Linked DNA regions of Homo sapiens: regions 1, 2 and 3 are each linked to region 4. Evidence: promoter capture Hi-C in 16 types of primary human blood cells and fetal thymus (Javierre and others, 2016). All regions are on one chromosome and are shown on one strand. Each heading gives the region's core, a stretch centred on a gene start or on the middle of the fragment in contact. The rest is flanking DNA. Distances are from core to core; before and after follow the strand shown.

Region 1 (7,515 bases), core at 3,837-6,336, 220 kb before region 4:
AGAAGTCTAATAGATTTTTTTACTATATTCACCTTGTATGTAGTAAACTTGCTATACTCACATATTACTTTGAACAATTTATTTGTATATTCTTTCAGATTTTGTATATACTCAATCATATCTCCTGCAAATAATGAGTTTTATTTTTTCCTTTCCAATTCTTATTCATTTTGTATCTTTTTCTTATTATTATACTTTGTAGGAGCTTCAGTACAATGATGAATAGAAATGATAATAACAAGCATCCTTATTATTCTCAAGTTTAGGGGAAAAACTTTCAACATTTCATTACTACATTTATCGTAGATCTTTTGATTAAATCTATCATATAAAGAAGTTCCTTTTAATCACTAGTTTGCTTTTTTAAAAAACATGAATGAATGTTGAGCTTTATTAATGCTTTTTATTAATCATCTATTTGGATAGTCATATAACTTTCAATTTTTTTATTCTGTTAATATGTTGATAATCAAATATTAAACCAGCCTTGCACTCCTGTAATAAACCCAGTTTGGTCATTCTTTGTATACATTAGAGATTTGACTAGTTTTTTTGTTTAGGAATAAAAAATGTTAAGATTCTAATTCCTTAAGTGCAAAGCTGATAAAGTGTAGAAAAAGATTTTGTGGACTTAAGGATTTCTTTGTGGTATATTTAACAATATCAGGGTTCACATAGCTACAATAAAGAAGATGAGTCTTCCAGGAAACTTTTCCAAAAGCGTTTTGAATTATTCTTGTTTCAAACCAGAGCTTACCATCTAGATTTTTTAAAATGAATACAACTGTGGTCTAGGTACAGAAGCATTAGGAAGATGGGTTGCTATTCCTAGCTTTTGTTCACATATTAGATTCACTTTAATGCAGTAAAGCCAGCAATTGAGACAAACAATTAATAAAAATACCAATTAAATTTATGACTATGATAGCTTCCTGAATGTAAATAACCACTTGCTAGAATGAAACTTCATTTAAACTGAAGTAAGGTTCATCCAGACCCTCAGCAGGGTGAGACCACCTGGAAAAACTGGACTTGGGTCCAAAAACGTATGCCATGTCCTTTAAGCCTTTCCATTTGTGTCTGGATAATGAGCCTTCCCAATCTCTTATCTTCCATACCTCTGAATAAACATAGAAGACTTACTAGGATAAACACGGAAGAAGTAACACTGAGCCATACCATGATATGAGAGCTGCCCAGGGTTATTTGACAGATTGACTCCCTACAGTCCTCAGAAATCTGTCAGGCTTGTCAACACATAGAAATGTTCTAGATTCATTCCTTATCAAGAACAAGCAATAGACAAGTTACTCTGAGTCTCAGAGGATTTCTGAGAGGAAGATGAGTCAAGAATTAATCATCTGTGGTTTCCAAACCTTGTTCAATCATTAACTGTGAACAGCTTGGTTTTCTCTTCTTGGGGATGACTTGTACAGAGTATGGCTGGAGCAGGGTATGTTTTCTATTTCCCATGTGTTCTTATTCCAACTCTTTGGAATATCCCAATGGACAGTGACTCCAGGAGGTATAGACGTACTCTTTTATTCATGGTATATGGCACAAATAATACATGCAGCAACAAAGATTTTCTTTGTTTTTAAAATCTGTATCTGTAAAGAAGTGCTCCTCTAATGTAAGAGGAATGAGGAAAGGAATGATTGGGCTTTCCATAGAAATTGCAATAAAATCTAAAGTATGTCTTAAAAACCAGGGCTCCAAAGCTTCAGACAGTGGGATGATGGCTAGCAGATCACATACTCCTGGTCAAGCATGGGGACGTCATGGTGCTCTTTGCAGAACAGCATGAAATGCAGCCATATTTGGTTTTGTTGAATGAACTAGGAGCAATAATACTAGCAAGAAAAATGACTAAATTACATGTGTATGAATCTTTACAAAACAGATACACACACAACCTTTTAAAAAATAAATATTTGTTGAATGTTGAACAAACATTTAAAATAAATCAGGCTGAACATGGTGGTTCACACTTGTAATCCCAGCACTTTGAGAAGCTAAGGAGGGAATATCACTTGAGACCAGGAGTTCGAGACCAGCCTGGACAACATAGTGAGACCTCATCTTTACAAAAATTAAAAAAATTAGCTGGCATGGGCCAGGCACAGTGGCTTATGCCTGTAATCTCAGCACTTTGGGAGGCTGAGGCAGGCAGATCACGAGGTCAGGAGTTCAAGACCAGCCTGGCCAACATGGTGAAACTCCATCTCTACTAAAAATACAAAAATTAGCTGGGCATGGTGGTGCGTGCCTATAATCCCAGCTATTCAGGAGGCTGAGGCAGGAGAATTGCCTGAGGCAGGACCTGGGAGGCAGAGGTTGCAGTGAGCTGAGATCGCACCACTGCACTCCAGCCTGGGCTACAGAGCGAGACTCTGTCTCAAAAAAAAAAAAAATTAGCTGACATGGTGGCATGCACCTATAGTCCCAGCTACTTGGAGAGCTGAGGTGGGAGGATTCCTTGAGCCTGGGAGGTTGAGGCTACAGTGAGCCATGATCGTGTCACTGCAGCCTTGCCTGGGTGAAAGAGTGAGACCCTGTCTCAAAAAAACAAAAACTAAAACTAAATAAATCAGTTTACTGATCTTTCTTCTTAATATTTATTTGTAAACTATCCATTCTGTTATCTGCTGTCATCCACTTGCAGACACTAAAGTTTTAAGGAAAGGACATCGAAAAAAATTAAAATAGAAAACATTCTACTTCTTTTTAATTTTTTCTACAAGCCTGGAAAATATCACCTTAATTTTATTTTACCTGTGAAACACCTTAGACCAGTTCATAGAACCATTGTGCCCTTGGAGCACAATTTGAGACATTGTGCCTAAATGAAAGAGATAAGAAAACTGTCATCAAGCATCTCTCTCTTGTACTGCCCCATCCACCTATCTCCATCCCTGGCTTCAAGGTAACCACCACTTCTACCACAACGACCTTCACCACCATTATGTTGAGTGTCACTATATGCCAAGTTCTGTGTTAATCGCTTTATTTGCAGCATCACATTTAATGGAGTAGATATTATTACCCCGTTTAGTATATGAGGAAACATTTAGGGAGATTATCATCAATAGACTTTATAAGGGCAGAGTTGAGATTTAAATCCAGGTATGTCTAACTCTAGTGTACATTCCCTTAACTGCTACCTTGTGCTTTCTTCTCTATGACCCAATAAGAGTGGAAAATACCAACCTATGATGTTATATATACCTGTCAATCAGCCCTTAGGAAAGTGTTTAAAAACCTCTCAATCATAAATCTATTATTATATCACCCAAGGGAGATCTGTGTTCTGTTACCAGGTTTGTATACTTATAGAATATATTTTACAGAGTTAGTTTTAACAATTTTTTAAAAATGTTGATTGAAAAGCGAAAAGAGTCTATCGAGATTATTGTGGCGACAATAAAATACAACTCAAATACCATTTTTTCCACGAAGTCTTCCTTGACTCAATCTTCTCTGAACTCCCTTAGGACTTTCCCTGTGTATTCTTAGCACTTCATCTTCTGCTTGAACCCAAAAAAAATCTGCTAAGCTTTTTGTTGTGGGGGTTGCAGATATAGAGATCAAAGACACAGTTCCTGTTCTCAAATAGCTCATGGTAAATATGTATTATGACACCTACAGGGTACCATGGAAAAGGAAAGGCATCTAACTCTAGCCAGAAGATTCTGAGGAGGAAAAGAATAAAAGGAGAATGTGGGCCATTGGGAAGCAAGTGAGAGGGAGTGGGGATTTTGACACAAGGTCCTAATCTTGAGATTGGAGTAGACATTAGCCAGGTGATGAAAGCATATGTGTGTGTACATTTGTGTGTGTGCGCACACACATACACATGCCTGTGTCTTCCAGGCAGAAGGAAGTAGCAAGATGATAAGGAGAGGAGCTTGGTCCATTCTGGGAATTTTAAGCACATAATTCGGTAAAGCTGGTGTGCAGGGTGGGTGGCAGGGAGTGGCACAAGATGAAGTTGGAAAGATATGCATGAGTGATTTGGTAAGGAATTTGGATTTATCCTAAAGAGAATTGAGAGTTATTGGAAGATTTTAATATCTTTAAAAAGATCTTTCTAGCAGCAGTGTAGAGAATTGATGGGCATGAGAAATGGGATGGTATAGGAAAAGTGGAAGAAAAACCCAGAAGTCAGGAAACCAGTCAGGAGGCTATTGCAGGCAGGCAGGCTGGACCTGAGCTCGAACAGCAGCAGTGATGTTGAAGAGGAGTGAGAGACAGGACATATGCAGGCAAATAAAGTGGAGAAATGAAGAAAATCAAATAGTAACCTCAATTTTTCAGATAAAAAAATTAAACTTATTTACCTTGTTATGTTATCCCTGAAAGGATGCACATTTCTCCACCTTTTTCAGAAGTTGTACTACAGGTATACAGCACAGTTTGCAGAATTAATAAAATCAGGATTCATTTTTAAACTTTTATTTTACTTTAATTGACAAATAATAATTGTATATATTTACGGGGTACAATGTGATGTTTTGATACATGTATGCATTGTGGAATAAAAATTAGTATTCTTTGTATACCACCCAACATATATCTATTTCCTGCTGTAATATCTGACTTGTTTTCCTTAGGCTGAAGTTATGGTTGGTTTCCACAAACTTAATTTACTTTCACTCTATTTCCTGGCTACACAGACTAAAAATTATACTACCTCTCACAGAAGATTTGGGTAAGGGGGAGAAAAGACAAAGCTGTTAAAACCCATCCCATTGTGAACAAAGGCACCACTTTCAAAGATGGCCAATATCATCATCTGGAAAGGAACCACATGTTTCCTGTATGTTTCTAGTCTGGTAAAAGTAATCTTCCTTGGTCCAATGACAGAACAATACAAAGCAATGATAAGAAATAATTAGAAAACATACAGCTGAACGGTTTATATTAGATTTGAGGAACAGTTTTCCCCTTAGAGAAGCTGTTACACAAGGTATCAGTTGCATCAAAAATATTCTTCCCTGGAGACTGCTACAGCATCACTTCCTCTTCTTATTTTGGGATGCTCACTTTCTGAATTACTGATTAAATAATTAATCAATTCATTCTGAAATTCACCCATTCAAAACATTTATTGAGCACCAACTCTATGCATCCAGTGTTAATAAAGACAGGGACATGAGTTCCAGAAGATGACAGTACAAGTAAGCAAAATAACTTGGAGTATGCCCTGCAATGGCAAGAGGTGGTTGATGAGAGTAGCCTAAAACCCTGGGCTTGAAAGGGTTCGATTAGGATAATGTGGGAGGCCTGCGAAGAGGAAAGAAAGGTCACTGGAAAAAAAAAAACAAAAACTTCTGTGTGCTAGTTTTTCCCAGAGCTGGCTCTGGTTTAATCAATGTGATAAATACTGGTGTCCATTTGTAAACTCCTAAAGAATATATTTATTTTTCCGTCTACAGCACCTAATACATCTTCCATCATATTATCATAATGGTTATTTCTATAGAGAATTTTACCCGTAACTTCATTTAACACTCTGGTGGGAAGTGGTAATTTCAGGTGTACCAAAATGACCCCACCTGGAATTGTAGGAACTAACTCAGAGCCAGGGAAAGATCACTTTTCTCTTCACAATTTATAGATGAGAAAACTGAATTGAACCCCCCAAAGTCAATACAGCTCGTTAGTTTTTAGTGATAGGGTCAGTAAATAACTCAGATGCTCTGACTCAGGCCTATCCCTTGCTGCAGCCATATTTCCAAGAGAATGAATGACTTGGAGAAAAATGTTGTAAACATCAATGAGTGTCATTTTTATTCACCAAAACTTGTATTCAAACAAAAATTCCAAAGACTTCCCAATTTTCCTCAATTTAAACTGACAACCCATGATTATCTCATGTTTAGTACAGATTTAAGCAACCTCACCTTCACAGTTTGTGACCACAGCCCATTTCATCCCCAATTGACTCCATACAGCAAAAAAACTCAACAAAGACAAGATTTGGAATGAAAAAAAAAAAAAAAAAACAAATAAGTAAGGTCTGTGGCTTTATGGCTTTACTCATTCAAAATTTCACCTACTGTGAAATGGCTTATCTAAGTTACAAGGTATAATCAAGTTTAACCTGATCATTATAATATTCCACCAGTGCTAAGAAAGTACACATGTATCTGTAATGCATGCTTATACCTGTATTAAACACAAAATCTTGAACTTCCATAATCCTTTTAACTCAAATGTATCAAAAGGCCTTAAGAACATGACGAATACATTTCTCATTAAGAAAGAAATCATGACTTTGTCAGAATTTAGCCCAAATTAAGCGTGCCCAGGATTCTTGGTGTTTGAGCTGATGCTGAGGCCTTAAAACCCAGGTCAAATCTGCAGAATAACTTTAGTATGGAGTAAACAAGCCTAGTAATCAGTAATTTGTTATGAAAAACATCATTTTGGAACACTAGTTTTTGTTCTGCTTAAGGGCAAGAAACATGTAGTAAATATAGCCCCCTTCCCTCCCTTCCTTCCCTACTGCCCCTACCTCCTCAATTCTTCCCTCTCCTCCTGCACAATTCTTGGCAGAAAATATTTGAACACTCAAGACAACTGACTTCAGTTATGAACACAGTAGTCCAAGAAAGCTTCCTGTAATCTCAGTTTGAGCAGTTATTGATTGGAAGTTGAGGGGTTTCTAAGACTTGCCTTGAGAACTGTTAGTTAGTATGCAAATGTTTAATTTCAGCTTCATAAGTATTCTCATTAGTCCATGTAATTCTTACCTGTAGTGGTTCAAACCTGTGATTACATGCTATTTTTTACCCATCAAAATCAAGTCACTATAGGTACTGGCTTACTGCATCTAGTGCTTGATATGTCTGAATTTCTCTTTCTCACATTTGATTTGGGGACTTAATCCCATTCTGAGCACGAAGGAATTTTATCTAGATTGAGGGGAGCAATAAAACTGATTCTTCTCAACTATAAAAATGAAAAGTATTCATAGACATATTGGTGGGCAAATGTGGTTGATTGATTCATTCCAAAAACTAGTGACTGAAAATAAACTGCTATCCTTGCAGACAATTACTGAAATAAAACACAGTCAGCTTTACATCTCTTCAAAACCTGTGGGAAACAGCTCTGAGTGAAAATAATATATACTGGTAAAACTGCTTTTTTAAATAAGAGAGACATCTTGCAAAAGATTCAAACTCATTCTTTTCAGGGCAACTTAATTACACAAGCTTTATGCTAATTATTGTTACATTAAAGATTTGGCAGCTTTACAAAAATCCTAAACTTGTACATGCAGGTTTAAAATCTCTATTTTAATTCTCCAGAGTTAGACTAGGAAAGCATTTCAGACAATGCCAACCTGTAGTAATGCTTGCTTTTTTTTTTTTTTTTTTTAACCTATCGGTACCTCATAGTTTCATAGGAATTTGCTTAACAAATCTGGACGTAATTAGTTGCCTGGCCTCCAAAACCCAAACCTGTATTCTTTGGTATCATGGGATGCTGTTTGCCAAATGACAG
Region 2 (7,543 bases), core at 3,605-6,104, 220 kb after region 4:
AATATACCTTAAGCTCTTTTCTAATGGAATAATTGGGGGGTTGGCAGGGAGCCATCCTTGGCACTGTATAGAGATGCCCCAAAACCTGGCACCTGCCCTGAGAGATGAAGAGTGCCTCCAGAACCTCTCATGCTAGAAAAGCCCCTTGGTCTAGGTCTGGGAAATGAGAGGAGAGGCAGGAAGATTGAGAACAGGCGCTGGAAGGGAGTGATTAGCTCAGTGGTTCTCAACCATGTCTGTGCTTTAGAATTACTAGAAAGTTTTAATGAATAGTAATGCTTGAAGCCACCCCTAGATATTACATTCAATTGGTCTGGGGAACGACCAGGCATTAACATTTAAAAATCTCCCAGGTGAATCTAATGTGCACTTGGGGATGGGAACCAGTCATTAGGCCCGTCCAGACACACTTAGCAAGTGGTGAGGCACTGAGTTGCTTGCTTCATTTTTCAATTCATAGGGCTCAGAGAGAAGCAGAGCCCTGACTCCCTTCCCCAAACTGGACACTTCCATGGCTGAGATAAGATAAGCACTTGGAAGTAGCTCCTGCTGAAAGAGTTTTCTGGCTAGAACTGATTCTATCTCTAGGGACCAAGTTAAAGGTAGAAGGTTTGAGGAAGGACAGCAACCCCCAGCCATTTTTTGCTCAAAATGGCTTCACCTTAAAAAAAAAAATAGGTAAGGCAACCTCTTTTTGAGCATGATAATTTCTTGGAGGGATGTTATTGGCTCTGTCAATCTAGATTGGTTTTTTCACATTGTCTAGATTTTGTGTTGGGGGTGCGGGGATCTCCTCTCCTTCCTGGTTGAGGGCTTGGAGCAGGGCAGCAGCCCTGTTCACATTTATGTTCCCTTGATTCTCAATCTTCAATATGGCCCTTCTCTTCTCATCTGCTTTTTTGAAATGCACACCTCCTGCCCTCCAGCTTCCAGTTCTGTAGAGCTCAGCTAGTTCAGACAAAAAGGTTGGATCAAACTGATTCCCATTAAGGTGTGGACAACTGACACCTGCCCCTACCCTAGTCCTCTTGGATTTAAAAAGAGGCTGCTTGTTGTCCAAGTATATCTTTAGTGTATAGAATTCCAGGTAATAGATGAAGAGAATTGAACCATTCTCCTGATCACAGCTGGGGGAGTTTGGTGGGGCTTTTTAAAGGGAGAAGGAGAGAAGGGATGGCTATTCCTATGCTGACTTGTAATGTCTCCTCAAATGGTGAGAACAGGGCATTGTTCAAGAACAAGCCAGATACCTGATGAAGAGCAGTCTATGTCTCTTCCCTCCTAAAAAAAAAGACAAAGGGTAGGGAGAGGGGTCTGCTTTAGGCAGCTTCAGTATATTTCTAATTATAGTGTCCATTTGTAACCAAGACTTTGGCCTTCCAAGAAGGCTTGATTATGACATTCATAATTCATTGGCAGTCAGTCTATTACAGATTCAATGATTTCTCCAGCCAGGGAGAGAATCTTGATCCTTTAAAAACTGATTTTTCACATTAGAATAGCAAAAGCAATTAGTTTTATTTTTAGCTCAGTTAAGCAAGAGCTCTAATGAAGCTGAAAGGAAGGTTTTTCCCATCTTTCTTTCTCCCATTCTTTTCCTTGAGAGAATTCGCCCTGGGTGTTTGTCCCCTGCTGCCATTGGGTCTTTGTAGGATGCCTCTGGCTGCTTTAGGAAACCTGCATGATGAGGACTTTGTGAAGGCTGAGGGTGGCTTTCAGAACTTTGTACTTAGCCTTGTATTTCCTGAGGCCTAGATCTTCACTCCAACTCCTGTTATGAAGGTGAGGGTGGAAGTGTGTGCAGGGATGAGCTTGGCAGCCTTAGTCCCTAAACCCCACATTACATCTGGAGTTTCTGGCATGAAAGCAGAGGACAATATTACCTGGCATTGAGGGCCCTTCTTCCCACAGTCTGAGCTCAACTTACCATTCTCAGCCTTGTCCCCCCAGTTCACCTGCACAAACTCCCACTCTAGCCAGAAAGGTTTACTCATGCACCCACGGTAGGACTACACACATTTCTCACTCACTTCCTGAACAGCTTCCTTCCCAATGCCCTGGAGCTCTCTTTCCTCTGGATTCTTGGGTTCCATCTTGTGCCTATACCTGTAAATCTCATGGCAGTGTCGGGCACACGCTGCCTTGGACCACTGGTTAACCTGGTCAGGTTTATTAACCAGCCAGATGCCTACAGGCTCCAGAGAGCTGGCTAAATGAGGAAAGCTGGTTATGGTAGGAACTGTGGTGACCAGAGAGCACAGGCCCAGTCTAAAGAATGCAGCCAATCTTCAATGGCGAAAGACTGTTTTCATGTTCAGCTTCTGATCCAGCATTGTCAGATTTTCTGATAGTTTTCAAAGGGAGCTTGACATCTAGATTTTAAAATGTATATAGTATCCTAATTTTTAAAAGTTGGAATGAATTCAATTTTCTTTAAAACCCTATGTGGGCCAAAACCCCTGTCTGGGGGCCACCATTTTGTTTCCTCAGTTGTAGGCTTTGAGAGCTGAACCCACAGACCCCAGCTCAGAACCCTGATTTTAAAGCCTCATGGAGCTCTTGCTGCCTCTCGGGTCCTGATCTGTCAGGTAGAGGAGCCAGCTTTACATGGCACCAGGATCAGAGAGGCCCAGGGGCCTCACAATCACACAGCGACCTAGGAGAGAGCCAGCATGAACTTGTAGCCTCTGGCCCAGAATCCTTTTTGCTAGTTCCACACAATGAATGGTGATACTGACTAAGGGCATGGTGCCAATTTCTATTGATCTTTACTGTTGTCCAAGCTTAATGAAAAATGGGGAAAACACCTTTCCCTTCAGAATGGATTAGATAAGGGAAAAGAATAAAAAAACTTCACTCCTGTTAGTTTCCACATCATTTTTGTATGAAAGATGCTTCCGAAATTTAGCACTGAAAAGACAGTTCTTGAGAAGCTGTATACCAGCCACTGTGGAACCCACGACCTAGTTCCTATCCTTGGTAGGCTTATAGTCACAGGCTCAAGACTATGAGCTCCTAGAGAAGGAACTCAGCCATACTCTGCATTGAGTGTCTCCCAGCCCTCAGCAATCTGCCCAGCATGTAACCGGGACTGAACAAATTGAATATAAACATGGCAACACAGGTGACACAAAATGAAGGAGAGGCAATACAGACCTTCCAACTAAACCATTCAAATAGTTTCATCTTGATGTAAGAATTTTATTCCTCATATGAATCTCATCTTGCATGTCATGGCATCATTTTCTCTTGGTGAGCATTTTCTCTTGTGACAGAGTAGTATCCTGAACTGATACTAAATAATATACCATTATTCAAGGTGATATTGCCTAGAAACCTGGCATGGGGCTGGGGGGAGTGATGGCATGAGCAACAATGGTAGAAAATAGGTAAAAGACTGTAGTTAATGCATCCCTTCTAAATCCTCCTCTCTGTTTCCCTCTTCTTAGTTTATCCTGCCTCCAACCTCTAAGAAATTCCCAGGAAAAATGGAGCATTATGGTGTGTCTTCCCATTTTCAGGACCTGAAAGATTGCTTGCTGTTCTCAGAGAGGGTATAAAAATTAGACCCTGGTGGAGGCCAGCTTGGGGTGTTGGATGAGCCTCTGACAGAGGATATGAATCTTGGCTGCAGGTGCTGGTGAAGGATGGTGAGGTTGACAAACCTACATCAAACACACCTCCGTTCTAGGGGAGCCATCACTCACCTCTCTGCACTCTGGTGGCCCATGCTAATGAGATCCCAGCTCATATACAACCCCTGCCCAAAAGCTGGGGCCCAGCCTCTCAGCAGACAGAGACAGAGTAGTCCTTGGAGGAACTATGAAGGAGACCGCGCTCAGCTGTATCTTCTCCCTACTCTCCAGTCCGCATTTGGAGTGGCGTTTCTGCTACCTTCCTCTGCCTCTGCGTCATCTTCTTAATTCCTTGCCTAGGGCATGGCCTCTCTCAAATGACTAAATAAATGTGGTTGAGTATTGCATCATGTGTTCTTCATTCCTCCTGGTGGCTGTTATATTTACAAGGAGACCCCAGGCATAAGACAAATGCTTAACCTAAGGAATAAATGTTTCATTGTCACATTTCAAGCACCTACTAGGAGGTGGTTTGGAAGGGATATTGACAGCCCTTTTGAAAATGGAAGTTCCATCACCTATTTACTGATAGGTGGTCCTGACCATCAGCTGAAAGGAAACTGAGTATAGATGATGATGAGGATGATGATGATGAAGAAAGAGTGACAGCAATGATGATGACGAGATGATGATACAAGCTAACATCTGACAAGTGCTTGCCAAACACCAGGCACGACATTAAGAGTTTACATCTACATGGGCGCAGTGGCTCACCCCTGTAATCCCAGCACTTTGGGAGGCCAAGGCGGGTGGATCATGAGATCAGGAGATTGAGACCATCCTGGCTAACACGGTGAAACCCTGTCTCAACTAAAAATACAAAAAAGTAGCCAGGCGTGGTGGTGGGTACCTGTAGTCCCAGCTACTCGGGAGGCTGAGGCAGGAGAATGGCGTGAACCCGAGAGGTGGAGCTTGCTGTGAGCTGAGATTGCACCACTGCACTCCAGCCTGGGTGACAGAGTGAGACTCCGTCTCAGAAACAAACAAACAAACAAGCAAACAAAAAGGGTTTACATCTACAAGCTCGTCTACTCCCATCAGCTCTGTTGGTGGGCACTCTTGTTATTCAGAAATGAAGACACCCAGCCTCAGAGAGGTTCAATAACTTACCTATATTGCTAAGAAATAAGCATTGATGGGAGCTGCCCTAGAAATCCTCCCTTTTCAACAAATAAGAAAAAACCAAGGAGGCTTAGGCTGCCATTTCCTTTGTGACGTATTTTCAAATCCCACCTAATCCTTCAGTGACATGGAGTTAAGAGCAACAACTTAAGTCCCGGGTTTGAATCCTGTCTCTGCCACTTAGAAGCTATGAGATTGAAGGCAGATTCTCTGAGACTGCTTCCCACTTTATAAAGTGGGATCAGCCTCATGAGCGGCTGTAATGATTCCATGGAGAACGCAGGCAGAGCCCTTTGCACATCCTCTGGCACATGCTGAACACATGGTATCATCACTCACTTCTGTTACACAGTGCATCACAGGCAGCCCCCACTTTCCTCTCCCCAATATTTTATGCATGTATTCATCTTCCCCATAAGTCTGTATCTGGGGGAAATTTTCATGTTTTATTCCTCTTTGAAAATATAGTCAATTAGATGGCTAGAATTGGAATAATAATAACAACAAACATGTATTGAATGCATACAACATGCTATGCACAGTTCTAAGTCCTTCCAACAACTGTGTTGTGTAGGTACTATTATGCTTGCTTTGCAGTTGAGAGTATCATGGCATAGACAGATTAAGTAACTCTCCTGAGTTCCTGCTACTGGCAAGCAGTGGATTCAGGAGTGGCTCCAGGAGGTCTGGATCCTGAGCCTGTGCCCATGATCTCTATTCCATAAATATTCTGCTTGCCAATTCTCATTGCCATTTAAATGTTTCAAAGCAGTAGGAGCTTGAGGCTCCCACAGGGTGGGCCACTTGCTCTACGTCACACAGTTAATTTAGTAGTGGAGCTGGGGCTGAAACTGAGCTCCCTGGACTGCCAGCCCGGTGCTCCTGATACGAGGTGTGCCCTGTCATATGGTATGATGATTCACTGGGAGAGAAGCTGTAGGAGGCTGACATTTTCCCAGCCTCATCTGTGTTTGCTGCCCACACATCAAGCCCTGAATGTCAAAGTCCCCCACGCTGCTATGCTGGAGGGGAGGAGGGAAGCCCACTCACTATTATTAAGCAATTAAAAATATGAGCAGAGCAAATGTGGGACAGTCCCACTTCTCTGACGTGTTGGGCAACAAGGTAGCTGGCTGTGTCCCACTCATACACAGAGATATTTAAGGGACTAAATGAAAAATAGCTCGTCTTGGCTCCCAGGGAAAGTGGTTTTGAGTACTGTAGATCATCACTGTCCCAGCTCTGCAACCCAAACGGCCAAACGGTCTGGGGGACAGTGGAGGAGTGGGGATGAAGGAGTGGTCCATGGCCTCTGAAGCACCATGGTTATATCACAAAAGTGGGGTGAGATCTGACAGCTTTCTCTGGGTCCATGGGTCTGTCTCTAAGCTGATGTGTTCCTCATTCTTCTCCCCTACAGAAATAAAAAAAAGTTACATGTCAGGTTGGACCCAAATCATTGCTATTTTTAATCTGTACCTATGGATGGGTACAAGATTTAATCTGTTACAGGAAGAAACAGGAACTGAGTTTGGTTGGTGAAAAGGCCTCCTTGGTGTCAGATCTGGGGTTCCTGCTGGAATCTGAACTCAGGTATTTAAAAGCAGGACCAGAGGATGGACTCCATGATTCTTTCCTATTCTCCTCCCAGACACCTTATCTGGAATATCCAATTAATAACCACATGTTTTTGTTCATTCCTTTAAAGTCTCTCTGACATCGATCCTAACCTTTGCTCTCCGTGTATCTGTGGGTGCACAGTAATCCTGTGGGCTGAGAGTAAAACTAGATGCCTTGATGGGTCATGGAATGGCATCAAAGAGGGTTCACCTACTCTGTGCCATAGAAGGCAGGATTGGAAATAAATCATTTGCATTGCTCCACATTGCCTGACACACAGAAGTTTTCAACACGTATTTACTGAATGAATGAGATGTGGGAGATAGGAGTTTGTTGGAAGTCCCTTGCTTTTTGCTACCCACAATTAACTTGATTTCAACTTAACAAATATCACCAAAACATTAGCTTGAATATGGCTTGTTGATATAAAAATTAAACAGTCTAAGTAGAAAATTACTTGTATTGGTGCATGCATGCACACACGTGTGCACACACACACGTGGTACACAGAGTACACCACTGCCATCTGGGATGACGGCAGAAAATGTCAAGCTTAAGTTCGGCAGTGTTAGGGTTGGGACAGGAAGGAGGAATAAGTCTTCTGAAACACTAAGAACTGTGTGCCTAGTAGGGCCCCTGCATGCAGAGAGGATGAGTGATTGGCTATGCAGACAGACAGGAGAGCAAGGGCTCCCCATGTGCATGGGGAGTTTGACCAATGAGACCAACTGTCCATGTTCCTATATCAGGATACAACTAAATCCATGGGAACGTGAATTTCAGCCAACTATTCAAGATGGAGCATCTTGGAATTCCAAGAAGAGCTCACTCTCTGCTGGTCATCTGGCTCTGAGCCCCTAAAGCTACTTGGAGCAGTCCAGATCCACTTTGCTTTAGGGTTGGTTGCTTCTATCTTTGTAACTCTAAAGGAGCTAGAAAGATTCTGTGTCTTTTCCTCTCTCCCTTTCCAGGTAAATAGAGGCGGGGAGAACAAGGAAAACACAGCATCATTTTTTTAACCTTTAATTTTAAACTAATTTTAGACTTACAGAAAAAATTACAAAAATAGTAGAGTTTTCCTGTACTCTTGTAGTTTTTTTTTTAAAATCAACAACTTTCATAGTTGTAGAACAATTATCACAACTAAGAAATTAACATTGGTATAA
Region 3 (7,267 bases), core at 3,048-5,547, 240 kb after region 4:
AAACAAACCCTGCTGACACCTTTGTCTTAGGCTTCCAGAATGGTGAGAGAAGAGATTTCTGTTGTGTAAGCCACCCAGTCCTGGCATTTTGTGATGACAGCCCAAGCCGATTAATGCACTCACAGAGAATGTACCCTGCAGTGAATGTGAAATCAAAGGTGTGAATCTGCTGTTCCTTGCTCAGGCTTGGTTCCCACAGCCTTCCAGGCGGGGGATCATCTCTCCAAGCTGGGTGAGAACCAAGTGTTGAACCATTAGCTAGCTAGCTCATCTAATCTATATCTTACAACCTCGACCCCAAACACAGCTACCTTAATCGGGGGCTCCGTCAAAGAATCGGTGATCAATTCCAATGCTGGCTGGGCTGGGCCTACTGGAGATGTCACTTTACTGACTTTTAATGGCTAAGGAATTTTTGAGGATAATGTTAATTACGTGTGATTTTCATCTTCAGTGATTACCTAAAAGGCCAGCTCCCAACTCCACTTAATGGTTACATAAATGGAACCCCTGTCCTGGCTGGCCCACATCATTGTGGCCTCTTCCCATCCACTCTCCAAGCAGCAGAGTCATCTTTTCTAAAAACAGTTCTGATTAGGTTACCTCCAATCCCCACTTCTGCACCTTTCCACCAATAAAAACCTAACATTATTCCCTTAGGAGAGAATCCCCAACTACTTTTACAAGACTTGTGAGGGCCTTCGGGGTCCAGGGTCTCACCAGCTTTCCTTGCCTCACTGGCGGCCCCTGCATAGTGCCCCAAGCTCCGGTGTAGATGGTTCCCCCTGCCTGGAACACTGTCTCAACCCCTCTCACCACATTCTCTCCATTTCATCCTTTAGACCTTTGTTCAAATGTCCTTTGCCTGGGGTTCTGCTGAGAGCCTGGCCAGGCCCCATGTCCGTGTCATGGGCACCTCTCACTGGGCCCCAGCTCTGTGTCATGGACACTTCTTACCTGGCTCCATCTGCCTGTCATGGGTGCTTCTAACCGGGTACATCTCCCTTTTCGCATTTGCCTCAGAAGCAGTTTCACAGTTGTCTGTGAGATGAGTGGATTCCTTTGTGTTTCCATAAATTCTAAATTTGATGTGGTAGAGACCGTGTCTGTTTTGTGCCTGGCACACAGCAGATATTCGGTAGGTGCTTTATTGAGCAAATAAACAAACACCCATCTTTTCCATCTCCACGTTAGTTCTTCCAAAGTAGAGACCACCTCCTGTTCATCTTTGTCTTCCTGTCTTAGAGATTTCTTCACTAAATCCCATTCTTTGATAGAAGAAGGAAGTGGAAGAATTACCAGGACTTACACATAGGAGGCTTTCACTCACTGAACCGTTTAATCACAAGGGCGGTGCCAAGACTTCTGCTCCCCACTCTGGGGCCTCAGGGCCACTCAGCCATGTGCAGACAGTGCTTCAGCAACGCCTGTTTTCTTCACTCTTTAGGGAGTTTATGATTGTTTAAGATTGAGTGCTTACAGTGAGTAAAAGCGATCTGGACAAAAAATCTTCCCATAAAAGAACAGAATGTATGCTGGATTTCTTTCTCTCTTGTTTTATGGGTTAGATTTCTTTTCTTTTTTTATTTTAAAACAGAGTCTCTGTCTCCCAGGCTGGAGTGCAGTGGCACCATCACAACTCACTGTGGCTTTGACCTCCTGGGCTCAAATGATCCTCCCACCTCAGTCTACTGAGTAGTCGGTGTGCACCACCATGCCTGACTAATTTTTGTATTTTTTGAAGAGACAGAGTCTTGACATGTTGCCCAGGCTGGTCTTGAACTCCTGGTTTCAAGCAATCTGCCCTCCTTGGCCTCCCAAAGTGCTGGGATTACAGGTGTGAGCCACCGCGCCCTGCCTGGGTTAGCTTTCTAATGGAGGGTTGCTTATTTGCGATTTGGGAGCTTTGCTACAAATGTTTATTGAGTGTCCTCTATGTGGCAGGCACTTATGAAGGACAGAGGGGGAAGTAGGTGAGGATAGGGAGTTGAGGGCGAGACAAAGGGAAGTGATGCTTTTTGAAAGTCCAGGCTATTGTGCAGTAGATCCCAGTGATGAGCTCTCAGAAAATCAGTGTCAGTGACTGTAACTTACTTTTCGCTATGGTCAAAAGTTTGTCTGAAGGCCTTGCCCTGTGTGGGACACTCAGGCTCAGAACACTTGCTTGGATCTGGCTGATGCAATCCCAAGAAACTCCAGTCAGCGTTCTCTCCCTTTGAGCCAGTGCCTTCACTTCCCCGAGCCTGTCTCCCTCATGTTTCCATCAGACACAAAGGACCGGTCTGTCGATACTCCTGTCTGTCAGTGACAAGCAATTGGTACCCGAGCCTGGGGTGGGACTTCTGATCTCAGCTTGGGGCTTGTTGATGAAGTGAGGACTGCTGTTCTCTCGGAGCACCACCAGGACGCCTCTCAGATCACTGTTTGAGCCCAGTAAAGGGACGAATCGTGCTCATGTTTATTCTGCAATTTCAAAGGCTGCCATCTAATGTTTAAGAGTGCAGAGACTTTAAATGAACAAACGGTTTGGTGGAAAATAAGAGATGCACATTGCCATGATTTGCTACCTGGTAGATGGACTTTATTTTATGTGGTTAAGGTGCAGAGCTTAGAAGGCTCTTCAAGTACAGGTAAGATTTGGAAAGTCACCACTAGGCTCTAAATTTGGGGAGCAGTGCCTTATGCTAATGATGTTTTTTGTAAAAAGATGGTCTCCTCTTCATCACCAGATTGTCCCTTAAATTAGCTAAAGCCCCGAGGCCTTAAATTAAAAGCAAGAAATTACAATGTAGCAGATTGAATTTAGGTTTATGTGCCGCGTGTGAAATATATGAGTGGCTTTTGAAAGCATAATTGTAAATGAACAGTGGGTTCCTTATGCACAGGCAGCATCCCCTGAATGTCTGGCTATTTGCATTGAAAGCCCACTTTCCACCCAGTTAGTGCCCCCACACCCACCCTCCCTTCCCCATCGCCATGACGCAAGCCAGACTGCACTGTCACGACCACACTGAAGCCTATGCTGACGCCATCATATCTGCTGGAACCTGCTCCCAAATTGCTCTCTCTGTTTAACCTGGTCAAGGCAGATCCAGCTTTTTGGGGTCCCCTCCCCTTCTTGGCCATTAACAAGCAAGATATCCAAGAAGGAGTGAACACCGAACTCTTTATCACTCCTGGGCTTGAGAATCTTCCTTTTTTTCTTTGCTTGGGCCTGAGGGTGCCTAGGAGGCAACATAAAATCTTGCTTTTGTTTCATTTATAATTGGTGAGTCTGTGCTCTCTGGGCAAAGGCCAGCGCATTCTTGGAAGGGGTTTTTAACGCTGGATGCACATTAGAATAAGCTAAGGAGATTTCAAAAATGCCGATGCCCGGGTCCTGAGCCATAGAGATTTCAATTTAATAGGTCTGGGATGGGGCCTGACTGTTGAGGTGTGTGTGTGTGTGTGTGTGTGTATGTGTGTGTGTGTGTGTTTATGTGTGTACAAGCTTTCCAGCCCATTGTAATGGTCGGCCAGAGTTAAGAACTACTTATTTGGAAGAAAAAGTTGTCCATTTTCACTGTTACTGTTAGGCAGATTTTCTTTAATCAGATTAAAACCATGTGATAGCAGACAATGCAAAATTAGCTGTGCAGAGAGAGGGATTTAAAGGATCCAGGCATTTATGACAAAATCAGCCATGATCCTTTTTTTACTGTACTCAAAATAAGACATGTAGAAAAAGCTGAGCCTTACAGGAGACAGATACAGTGTCCTTGGGCTTGGGTAGGGCTAGAAAGTAAGCAGCTTCAGGGCCAGGTGCAGTAGCTCACGCCTGTAATCCCAGAACTTTGGGAGGCCAAGGCAGGCAGATCACTTCAGGTCAGGAGTTCGAGGCCCGCCTGGCCAACATGGTGAAACCCCATCTCTATTAAAAATACAAAAATTAGCCAGGTGCGGTGGCAAGCGCCTGTAATCCCAGCTTCTTGGGAGGTTAAGGCAGGAGAATTGCTTGAACCCTGGAGCCGGAAGTTGCAGTGAGCTGAGATCATGCCACTGCACTCCAGACTGGGTGACAGAGACTCCAAAAATAAAAAAAGAAAAAGAGAAAAAGAAATAGAAAGCAAGCAAGCAGCTTCAGAGTGGGAGGCTGTAGACGTCGCCAACCTTTCCTTGAAATCAGGTTTATGCACTCATTTATTAACTCATTCATTCATACATTGCCTCTTTATTAAGTACCTCTTTGGTACAAACACTTCGGTAGGCTTGGGTGCAAAGGTGAATGTCTTCCAGATAGGAATTCTAAAAGAGTTGGAAACTCAGGAGATTAGGGTTAATTTTCGTAATCACAGATACTTGACTTTTCACCCGGCCTCCCATTCCTTTGTCAATGCCAGAAGCCAGTGTCTGCTCTCGAGCTTCCCGGCGCGGTGTGAGGGGGGAGGAGATGGCAGCACCCCCACTTTCTGCCTCACCACTTGCCGAGTCTTGCCGCTGACATTTTCTCTGGTACATTTTCGTATGACGCCGAGCAGCATATGGCACCTCTTTGTCAGACACATTATCTCAAGCACGTCCTCACTCCCATCCTGCCTGACTCATTTGGGGATTACAGAAAGTTCGTAGGAACAGACAGGGGTGCAGAGGCAGGAGAAACATTGTAGAATTTGTGAAGATTGAGTACTGGAATACACTTTTTTTTTTTTTAAAGCAACAGAAAAAGTACAGATCTCATGGTATAGCTTCACAATACCCTTCCTCGGATGGCTGGGAAGGAATCATTATACTCATTTTAACAATCAGGAATCTGAGACTTAGAGAAGTTGACTGTCAAGCATTTCTACCTGGATGCCTCTTCCTGGGGGTGGAGGATGTACATCTCTAAGATTGGCACCTGGAAAGACTTCTTATTCCAGTTTCAGGCTCCGCTCTGCAGAGACGCCAGAGCAGCCTACAGTCCCGTCTCCGCCGGCTAACCAGACATGACCACAAGGGGGCACCAAAGAGTTTTCATTACTTCCGCAGGTCTTGCTTTGCCTGCTTTTTCTGCGGTGTGGTGGCACATAGGTGCACAATGAAAAGAAAACAGTGTGAACTTAGAAGAACGGACGATGTTGGAAGACAAAGCTTAAGCCCCAGGTAGAAAACTGTGACTAGCAGTGGTGGCGATGACCCTAATTTTTCCATTGATCAGGGGGGTGGGGAAGTGTCGCAAGGTGGGGTAAACTTCAGATCCCTATCAGGACCCTGAGGTGCCATATGAATGTTTTCATTTTTCTTCGAGAAAGCAAAGGAAGATGGAGACTAATGCATATTAAGCAGGCATTTGTTTAATCAGTCCTTCACGGAGTGTGTGGCAGGACGTCAAGTATGGAAGGTAGGCTGAGGCTTAGTAGGACCTCGGTAGGACTGTGGAGGTCACGGAAGGGGGTCTGGGTTTTATTCCAAGTACCATGAGGAGTCCAAGCCCGCGGGTAGTGTGACCTGTCTTACCTTGGGATGCTCTGTGAGGAACAGGCCATGGAGCACAGGTGTGGGTGCAGTAGAGGGAGGGGCCATTGCAAAGTCCAGAGAGCCTAGAGTGGCCTTGGTGGAGATGGAACGAAGCAAATGGACTTAGGACATCACTGGAGTTGGGACTGGCAGGGCTACTAGTGGACTGATACCGGCAATGTGAGTGAGAAAGGGGGGAATCAAGAGACCCTCAGGTTTGGGGTGTGGATGGTGGTGAGACTGAATGAGAGGAGAAGGGTTGTGGGAGGACCAGGCTCAGAAGGGAACTGGCATCTCTTTCGGCCATGGCAAGTGTGTGATGCTGCAGGCTCCCACCTGGGGAGGCCTGGCGGGCAGCTGGATTTACAAGTCAGAGCTCAGGGGAGAGGCCAGGGCTACAGGTAGGAATTTGGCACTTTCATTTTTTTTTTTCATTTAATACTCACATCAGCCCTATGTTTCAGATATTGTTGCTCCCATTTCATAGACAGGGAAGCTGAGACTTAGGAAAGAGGAGGTAACGTGGCTCCAAAGTAGTAGAGCTGAAATTTAAACTGGGTCTGTGTGATTCAGTCGCTGTTTCCAAGGTGTCTCCCACATTCTTAACTGATTACCATTAGGGAAAAATCTACGTCTTATCCTGCCTCATACAGGCATTCATTAAGTATTGGTCATCCCTGGTTACACCACTATACTTTAGCCTTCCTTCCCTCAAGAAAAAAAAAGCATTAGTCAACCCAAATGTCTAGTTCTTTAAAAAAAATCATTTTAACCCAACAGATCTTGTTTTTTTTCCCAACTAAATAATAGATTATCTGAGGGAAGAAAAAAAATCATGCCTTCATATGTGCAGATCCCAGGCAGCATATGGTAGAGCACCTCACACCCAGGCAGGGAGGCCAGTGAGGTCACCCACTGAGTGCCAGCCACCGTCATAGCGGCTGCCAGGAGTGCAGTGCAGGAAAGAATACTGAGCTAGGAGAATGTGCTGAGATCCATGAGTGATGTCTGTTTCAGGCACTGGAGGGGTGAGAGGCAGCCTTTGAATCCTATATTTGCCATTCCTGAGACAGATCCTTCAGTCAAAGGAGAAATCAGGGCTCCAATAAGAACCTGATCAATAAGACCCTCCCCATTCACAACTCACCAGCCAATGGAGACTCCACAGCAAGGGCTTGAGGTCTTCCTTTCATAATTACTCAGAACCCAATGAAACCAGGGGAGTGCAGAGGCTCAATTAGCGGGAGTTATGGGTGAGTCAGCCTCCCCTGCACCTGCTGTGAGGATGGGCCTTCAGGGCAGACCCGTCTTGAGCGATTGTAGGTGCTGGCTACAAACCACTCTCCAGGAGTTGCTGAGGCAGCTGCAGGAACAGAGAGCAGCTCCCCAGAAGGGGAGACCCGAGAGGGAGGCAGAGGGCTATGAGTGAGCTGGTCCATGGCTGGCTGGAAGTGGAAGGCATGAGGGAGACTGGTAGGGCATGCTCAGATCACCCTGGGTTTTGTTCCTAAGCTGTTCTGGAGGAGAGCTGATATGATGAGAGGCTGAAGGAAAACTGCTCACTGTGCTCACTGCTTGTCTCCTGGAATCTGGAACTGACCCCTCAGGGGAGGGTGACTGGAGGGCCTCCTCCAGCCTGCTGAGAACACAGACAGGTACTCCTTGGTGCCACCTGGGTGATGGGTTAATGGGCACACTCTCAACAAGGGTAGGAGCTGTTTTGGACACCTGAACATCAGATGGGGCTGTCATCAGTTTGGAGAAAGCAGGTGATATGGTTTGGCTGTGTCCT
Region 4 (7,069 bases), core at 13-2,512:
GAACTTTAGCTGGCAGTCAGATAGACTCGGTTTGTAAAAGGCAAGAGCACTGGGTCATATCCAAAAAAAGAACAAGAAAATAGACCGCGACCCCGATTTAGATCCAAAAGACCAGAGTCCAGATTGCGACCAATATCTGGTACTCTACTGTTTGTGAAATGAGACCAGTATCTGGTACTCTACTAGTTGTGAAAGGGTGCTTTTCTCATACCAGCAGAGGGGCAAAAGGCAAAATGAGGCCCCTGCCTGGTTCCGTAAAATATTTTACCTTCCTGGTCGGTGGCTTTTTTTTTCTTTTTCTTTTTCTTTTTTTAAGAGAAAGCGTTTTGGATGGGGAGTCCCGCCCCGGGAGTCTTCACCAGGCGGCCAGAATGGCAAAGTCACAGGGATGGGGTTGAGGGTGGGGTTAGGGGTGAAGGGGCAGAGAGTTATTTGCAGCCCAAGAGCAAGTCTGCACAGCGTGAGGTCTGGCCCACTAATAGTCCCGAAAGAGGAAGCGGCGGGGATTTTATCCGGCCTGAAGCAGCCCCATAACTTCACTACCATGAACCGAGAAAAAAAAACTTCACGCCTATTCCTCCCTTACAGGAAGGGAGGGAAGGGGAAGGGGAAAAGGGGGCAGCAAATGAGCAGGGCGAACCGGCTTTTCTTTCTTCGGTAGCGCTCTGCTCAGATGTGAGAAGTAACGGGTCACCTGGCCACTAGGAACAAAAATGTGGTCCCGCTCTGGGCTCCGAGGCTGCGCGCGCCTCGAGGAGGAGCTGCCCGCAGCCCTGGCTGGAGCGAGCGCCCGGGACGCATCCCCCGACGCGGCGGGAACAGGATGCGGGACCGCGAGGAGACAATACGCCCGCCTGGGCACGCGCGCTTTAAGGGAAGGGGGTCTCCAAAGTCAGCCCCCACCCGGGAGGAGCAGGCGCCCGCGCTCCCCACACCCTCCTGCGCCCCCTCTGTCGGCAGCCATCTCCGACACAGCTCCTCCGAGCTCGCGCTCTCCATCGCGCCCTTCTTCCTTCAGCACACTAGGCTGCCCTGGGACTTACGATTGGCTTGGGTCCCCGGTCCCGGTCCCCGCCGCGGGAGGACGGCTCCAGCACAGGCTTTGCGCGCAGGTCGAGGGCCGAGGCGCCGCTGCTTGCAGGCGGCTGCGGTGGAGCTTGCGGCCCGGCACTTAGAGGGGCGCGGGCGGCGATGCCCCCGCTGGCTCCCACCTTCTGGCCTGCAGCGGCCGGCTCTACTGAACTTCAGAGTTACTCATTTCCTGGATGTCACAAAAACTTTTTCCTCCTTATAAGAACAAAACACCCGCCTCTACCCGCGGCCCCGGAAGCTCCTTAAGGAGGACCGTGTGGGTTTCGGTGGTTGGGCCCAGGATCCGCCGGGAAGACCTTCCCAGTGAGCCCCCAGAAACTTCCCCGGCACGGCAGAACTGGAGAGTGACTGGGAGAGACGGAATCAGGCCAGTGGAGTAAACTGGAGCGAGTGGACAGGGGCGCGGGGAGGACGCCCTTAAAAGTCGTCCTAAGCCGCGGAGCGGAAGGGGTTAAGTCCTTACCAGTCGGGGAGAGTTTTCTGCGGCGCGTTTTACAAGTGGCGGAATTCCTGGGGCCACCTATTTAGTCTCTTGGAGGAAAATATAACTCTAGACAAAACGCCAGCCTTTTTCTCTTTTGCAGCTTGAAAGGATTAAAATAGCTTACTACCGTTTTTTTTTTTTTTTGAGAAGGAGTTTCGCTCTTGTTGCCCAGGCTGGAGTGCAATGGTGGCGCTATCTCGGCTCACCGCAACCTCCGCCTCCCGGGTTCGAGCGATTCTCCTGCCTCAGCCTCCCGAGTAGCTGGGATTACAGGCATGTGCCACCACGCCCGGCTAATTTTGTATTTTTAGTAGAGAAGGTGTTTCTCCATGTTGGTCAGGCTGGTCTCGAACTCCCTTCTCGGCCTTCCGAAGCGCCTGGGATTACAGGCGTGAGCCACCGCGCCCGACTTTTATGATAATCAAATGCATGGTTGCTTTTCTCCGGGATTAACCGGGCACAAAGGAGAACAGTGACCGGATACTGTACGGGACAGGCGCGGTAGTTTCTGGTTACTGTTGTGACGGTAGATCAAGTGTTACTACCCCTATGTTAGAAACGAGAGAACTGAGGCCTGGAGGAGCAGCAGCAGCGTTCTGGTCGAGCTTAATAGTTTATGAAATCCATAACTTCTATTGTCTTCCCTTTGACCTGCCCAAATCCTACCATCAGTACAAAAGGCAGAGCAGGGTTTGAATGAATTCTCCATTAAGCGGCTTTGGGGGCACCAAATGCCAGTGAAGGCACATTGGGGAAATTGGAACACAGTGTCCAAAATGATCACCATTGCTACTGCTATTTGGTCTTAGATCACCTTTTTTTCGTCTTTTCCTTTAACACTCGCCTGGAAGACTTTTTGGCTGAGTCTGAAAGATAAACAGGCAATGAGAAAATGTTCTAAAAATAGACTCCCTGGCCCTTGGCCCAGGGTACTTTTGTTTTCAAGTTTCTACTGCTGCTCAAATTCTTTCCTTACGTAAGAGGTTATGGCAGAATTTTGGGGGCCAGTATGTGTGTTGGAGGTGGTGGGGGCGATCTGGGGAAACGGTCTTGAAAGAGCTGTATTTCCAAAATGTCTAGAAGTTGGTCCGGTGGGTTACTCACACCCTCCGCAAAGCAGGTGGGGGAAATTTCTGTGAAGTAAGAGCGCTGGGCTGAGCTTTGTCATCCTTGGGCTAAGAGTTCAGCGTTGTGCTGGAATGCCAAGGTTAGTGCTTGAATGCCCTCTGGGATTGTCATCCCGTCTGCAAAGTTGTTTCAGCAATTTCTAACCAGCCATGTATATTTATATAAGGAATATTTATTATATTTGTTTTGCTTTTAACCTGATGATTTCACCTTCTGTGTTCTGATTGGTTCCTGTCTGTTCTAAGGTCCACCCTTCTACCTGGCTTGTAAGTCGTTCATGAACTGGCCTCTGCTTATCTCACCAGCCTCATATCTCACTCTGTGTCCCACACAAAACTCCTTGCAGTTCTTGGAACCTGTGCTTCCCAGAACGTGATATGCTCTTTGATATGCTGTTTGCATGATATGCTTTTTCTCTCCCCTTGGATATTCATATGTACTCTACTTTCTGCCTGCCACAGCCACCCCACCTCCTCCTCCAAACTGTCACCCCAGTGCACATGCATGTTATTTTGCCCGACTAATTGTATGCTCAGTCTTCCTGTCTCAGAACAGGCAGTTACTCCTTCAGGAAGTCTTCCTGGAACCCTCATGTCTGGATTGGACACCCCTCCTGTCGTTTCTACAGAACACTGTGCTAACTCGAGAAATGTTTTTTAAAAGATAGGAAAGTACAAAGATTCAAGTTATGGGAACTTGAGGAGTCAAGAAGTCAGGGAACTCCTGCTTCGAACAGTGAAAGGCTGAATAAAATATATCAACAACGGAAGGGAAGAAAGGGGGTCTCCAGGTGTGAGATAGGTCAAGGGAACTCAAAAGCATGACATGAATATAAGCCCAAATGACTAAGGACCAGGGGTGAGTACCCACTCAGGGATTGGGGTTAGTATCTATTCAGGCCTTGAGTTCTATAAAGACAGGGATCTGGACTTGAGATCTCTGCCTAAGGCTGGAACCCTGGAAAGGCTGCCCTTTAGTAAGAGGAGGATAGAAAAAAGCCCTCTCCCCATTGGCTCAGGGTCGCGGGAAGGAAACTTGTGGTTTATCCCGGCCCTGGATGAATTTTAAAATGTCTTCTATAGAAATGAAAACCCCTAGCCTGCCTATACTATGCATAGGTGTGAGCTCCCAATTTATACTACCCACGTGCTGAGGGAATCCTAATGTCAAGAAAAAACACAAAAAACCTGTTTCAAAGTGGTGAATCCCCTTGGCCCTGTCAGAAGCAAACGTAAAATTCGGTTGTTTATCCTGGTCCCTAGCAGAATAAACAACTCCCATTGAAGTTACAATAAGAAATTAAAATGTTTCATGATAAGAAATTAAAATATTCTTTATATTATTTTAATTTCTTAAAATTAAGAATTATTAATAATCATTAAGCTTATAATAAAAAATTAAAAACCAGACTAGGAAATGAACCACATGAGGGTGTGAACTGGTAAATGTAATAAACAGGAAAATTAGCCCCTTAAGTATCTGAGACAATAGAACAATTTGAAAAAGAGTATCAAATAGTTATGGTCAAAATACAGAGATAAAATGATAGGACATAGGACTATGAAAAAAGAACAGGTAAATTTGAAAAAGTACAGCTATAATATGTAGAAATAAAAAGTTTAGTCATTTACATATAAAAAACCTCAATGATTGAAATTCTTTTTTATTTAGGCAGTTGGTAATATATCAGTCAAAAATCTAATAAAAATAGCTCATTGAAAAGGGGAAAGAAAAGTAATATATTATTGTTTATAAATATATAAATTATTTCAGAAATTTAAAATAATATATTAACAAATAGAATTCCAGCAGCACACCAAAGAATATTACATCATTAATAGATCAAAAGAGAAAAATGGAAAGATCATCACCATATATGCTGAAAAGCCATCAGATAAAATTTGGCATCGACATATAAACAAACCCTCTGTAACATGGTAAAAACAAAGGGTAAAGTTCAGCCCCCAAACCAGTGTTATGCTTAATGGGGAAATACTAGAAATCTTCTAAAGTCAGTGCAAGATATGAATGTCCTCCTTCACCCCTATTCTTTTTAAAAATTATAAATTAGGAATATGTTTGGCTGCAAGTAACGGAATACCAGACTGTAATTTTTATAGTGTCTAAGACTATAAAAGGCTTAAACAAATAAGGATTTGTTTTTCTCACATCAGAAGCTTGTATATAGGTGGCTATTTTGGGTCAGTGCCTTGATAGTTTCAGGGCTGATCAAAGGATATGTGCATTTACTATTTTGGTATATATTACAAAATTGCCCTCCAAAGAGATCTCACCAATTTGAACTATTTCCCATAGTATGATGATTGCCTTTTTCTCTACATTGTTGCCAACATTGGCTATTTTCTATTATAACTTTAATTTAGTTTGCTTCTTTTATAGGTGAAAAAAACCCCTAATCTCAATGTTTTGATTTGCAGTTTTTAAATTATGAGTGAGGCTGAACAGAACATTGTTATTGGCCACCTTTATGTGTTTATGTGTGAAGACTCTGTTACAACATCCCCCAGTTTTCTATTGGCTTGTTTATGTGTATACATGTGTGTGTGAAAGTAGATGGAATGTTCTTCATGATCATTTAAGTGCTAGATGAGGCTTCACATTCCATAGTGAAAGGTGACTTGTCAGCTGGGTGCTGTGGCTCCTGTCCGTAATCCCAGCACTTTGGGAGGCCAAGGTGGGCAGATCACATGAGTTCAGTTTTAGACCAACCTGGCCAATATGGCGAAGCCCCGTCTATACAAAAAAAAAAAAAAAAAAAAATACAAAAATTAGCCAGGTGTGGTGGTGCGTGCCTGTAATTCCAGCTACTCTGGAGGCTGAGGCACGAGAATCACTTGAACCTGGGAGGTGGAGGTTGCAGCGACCCGAGATCGTGCCACTGCATTCCAGCCTGGGTGAGGGAGTGAGACCCTGTATCAAAAAAAAAAAAAAAAAAAAAAAAGTGACTTGTGACAAAGTCTGAACCAACTGCAGGGGAGCTTCACACCACATCTCACGGTTAGGAGCACTGGAAATTTTTTAAAGATTAAATACACAGGGACAGATTTCCTGTTCACCCCATCTGTGGTTATTCCAGTATATGGAATAAAATGCATGACAATGGGAGAGACAGGAAGCCTATACTAGTCATTAAGCATCTGATGGAGGGGAAAAAAGGGCACTTCCCTTGATTTGGTCAATTTCCCACTACCCTGATTTCAACTTCACATGGAATTTCACAAGATAATAGCAAGTTAGTTTAGAGGATGTTTCACAGAACAGGCTGCTTTGCTGAGACCTCAGAGGTGTCAGTTGAACAAGACGAATGATTTGCATTTGGCTATTTCATTCCTCAAGGTCAGTGCTGGTCACGTCCCTCCTCTGGGAATGTCGGAGCCCACAGGGCCTTTAGAGATTATTTACTGACAAAAATTAAGTCCAGAGAAGTTAGGTCACATACTCAAGGTCACATTGCTGGTTAGTGACTGAATAATAATAGCTAAAACTTGTGCCATCTGCTAGGTATTACTCAAGCATTTTATACCTACCAACTCATTTAATCCTCATATCAACTCACGTGGTAGGAATCATTAGATTCTACAGAACCTACGTTTTTCAAAGATTTTTGAAAATACATTTTATTTCACAACCCAGTATACTCACACATACAAGTGCATTATAATTGAAAGACAGTTTCCTTAAAAACAATTGTTATGTTTACTGAATGTGATACAAACTGTTATGTTCCCTTTTCTTTTTACTCTTCCTATGTTAACCTCTTTTGAAAAAAATGCAGGCCACAACTTATTAAATGAGTCAAGATCCAAAGTTTGAAGAAAATGCTTATTTATTTATTTAATTTGAGCTAGAGTCTCACTTTGTTGCTCAGGCGGGAGTGACGGTCGGCTTCACTGCAGCCTCAACCTCCCAGGGTCAATCAATTCTCCTGCCTCAGCCCTCTGAGTAGCTGGGACTACAAGTGTGTGCCACCATACCTGGCTAATTTTCCTATTTTTTGCAGAGATAGGGTCTCAGTATGTTGCCCAGGCTGGTCTCAGACTCCTGGGCTCAAGTGATCCTCCTTCCTCGGCCTCCCAAAGTGCTGGGATTACAGGAGTGGGTCACTATGCTTGGCTAGAAAATATTTCTTTAAACTACTCTTCTAACTCACATCTCTGTTTTGAAAACTGTTATTGGTTTATGTATGTTAATTTTCCATCTACATATGCCACTTGGCTTGGGAAAGAACAGTCAGATGATTGCCATCCAACTTATTTCTGGTCAGTAGATATTCATTGCTCTCCTTGTAGTTAATGTCTAAAGATGGTACCCTTGCCTTTGACACAGATCATTATGCTGTAACCT

Evidence for each region. Contacts are between HindIII fragments. The CHiCAGO score rates a contact against its expected background, and 5 or more counts as called.
Region 1: a contact is called between a fragment that was not itself captured here and the fragment with the promoter of ITPRIP in region 4, in 1 of 17 cell types (monocytes). The highest score is 6.1, in monocytes.
Region 2: a contact is called between a fragment that was not itself captured here and the fragment with the promoter of ITPRIP in region 4, in 1 of 17 cell types (M2 macrophages). The highest score is 7.2, in M2 macrophages.
Region 3: a contact is called between a fragment that was not itself captured here and the fragment with the promoter of ITPRIP in region 4, in 1 of 17 cell types (neutrophils). The highest score is 5.7, in neutrophils.

The regions. Positions count from the first base shown.
Region 1 is chr10:104,108,773-104,116,287 of GRCh38, forward strand. No RefSeq gene overlaps it. Among named protein-coding and RNA genes, the nearest start is that of SFR1, 9.6 kb to the right of the region's middle. The HindIII fragment of the contact is 3,064 bases long and covers 3,555-6,618 here.
Region 2 is chr10:104,554,422-104,561,964 of GRCh38, forward strand. No RefSeq gene overlaps it. Among named protein-coding and RNA genes, the nearest start is that of LINC02620, 78 kb to the left of the region's middle. The HindIII fragment of the contact is 4,146 bases long and covers 2,782-6,927 here.
Region 3 is chr10:104,576,006-104,583,272 of GRCh38, forward strand. The region is part of intron 1 of LOC105378464 (a long non-coding RNA gene); the gene reads left to right. Among named protein-coding and RNA genes, the nearest start is that of SORCS3, 62 kb to the right of the region's middle. The HindIII fragment of the contact is 1,619 bases long and covers 3,489-5,107 here.
Region 4 is chr10:104,337,203-104,344,271 of GRCh38, forward strand. ITPRIP (inositol 1,4,5-trisphosphate receptor interacting protein) reads right to left here and starts at 1,263. Exons shown (of 2, transcript NM_001272013.2): 1 at 1,044-1,263. It also overlaps a transcript of CFAP58 not described here. RefSeq lists enhancers at 1-140, 2,889-3,183 and a cis regulatory region at 2,406-3,825. The HindIII fragment of the contact is 4,481 bases long and covers 1-4,085 here.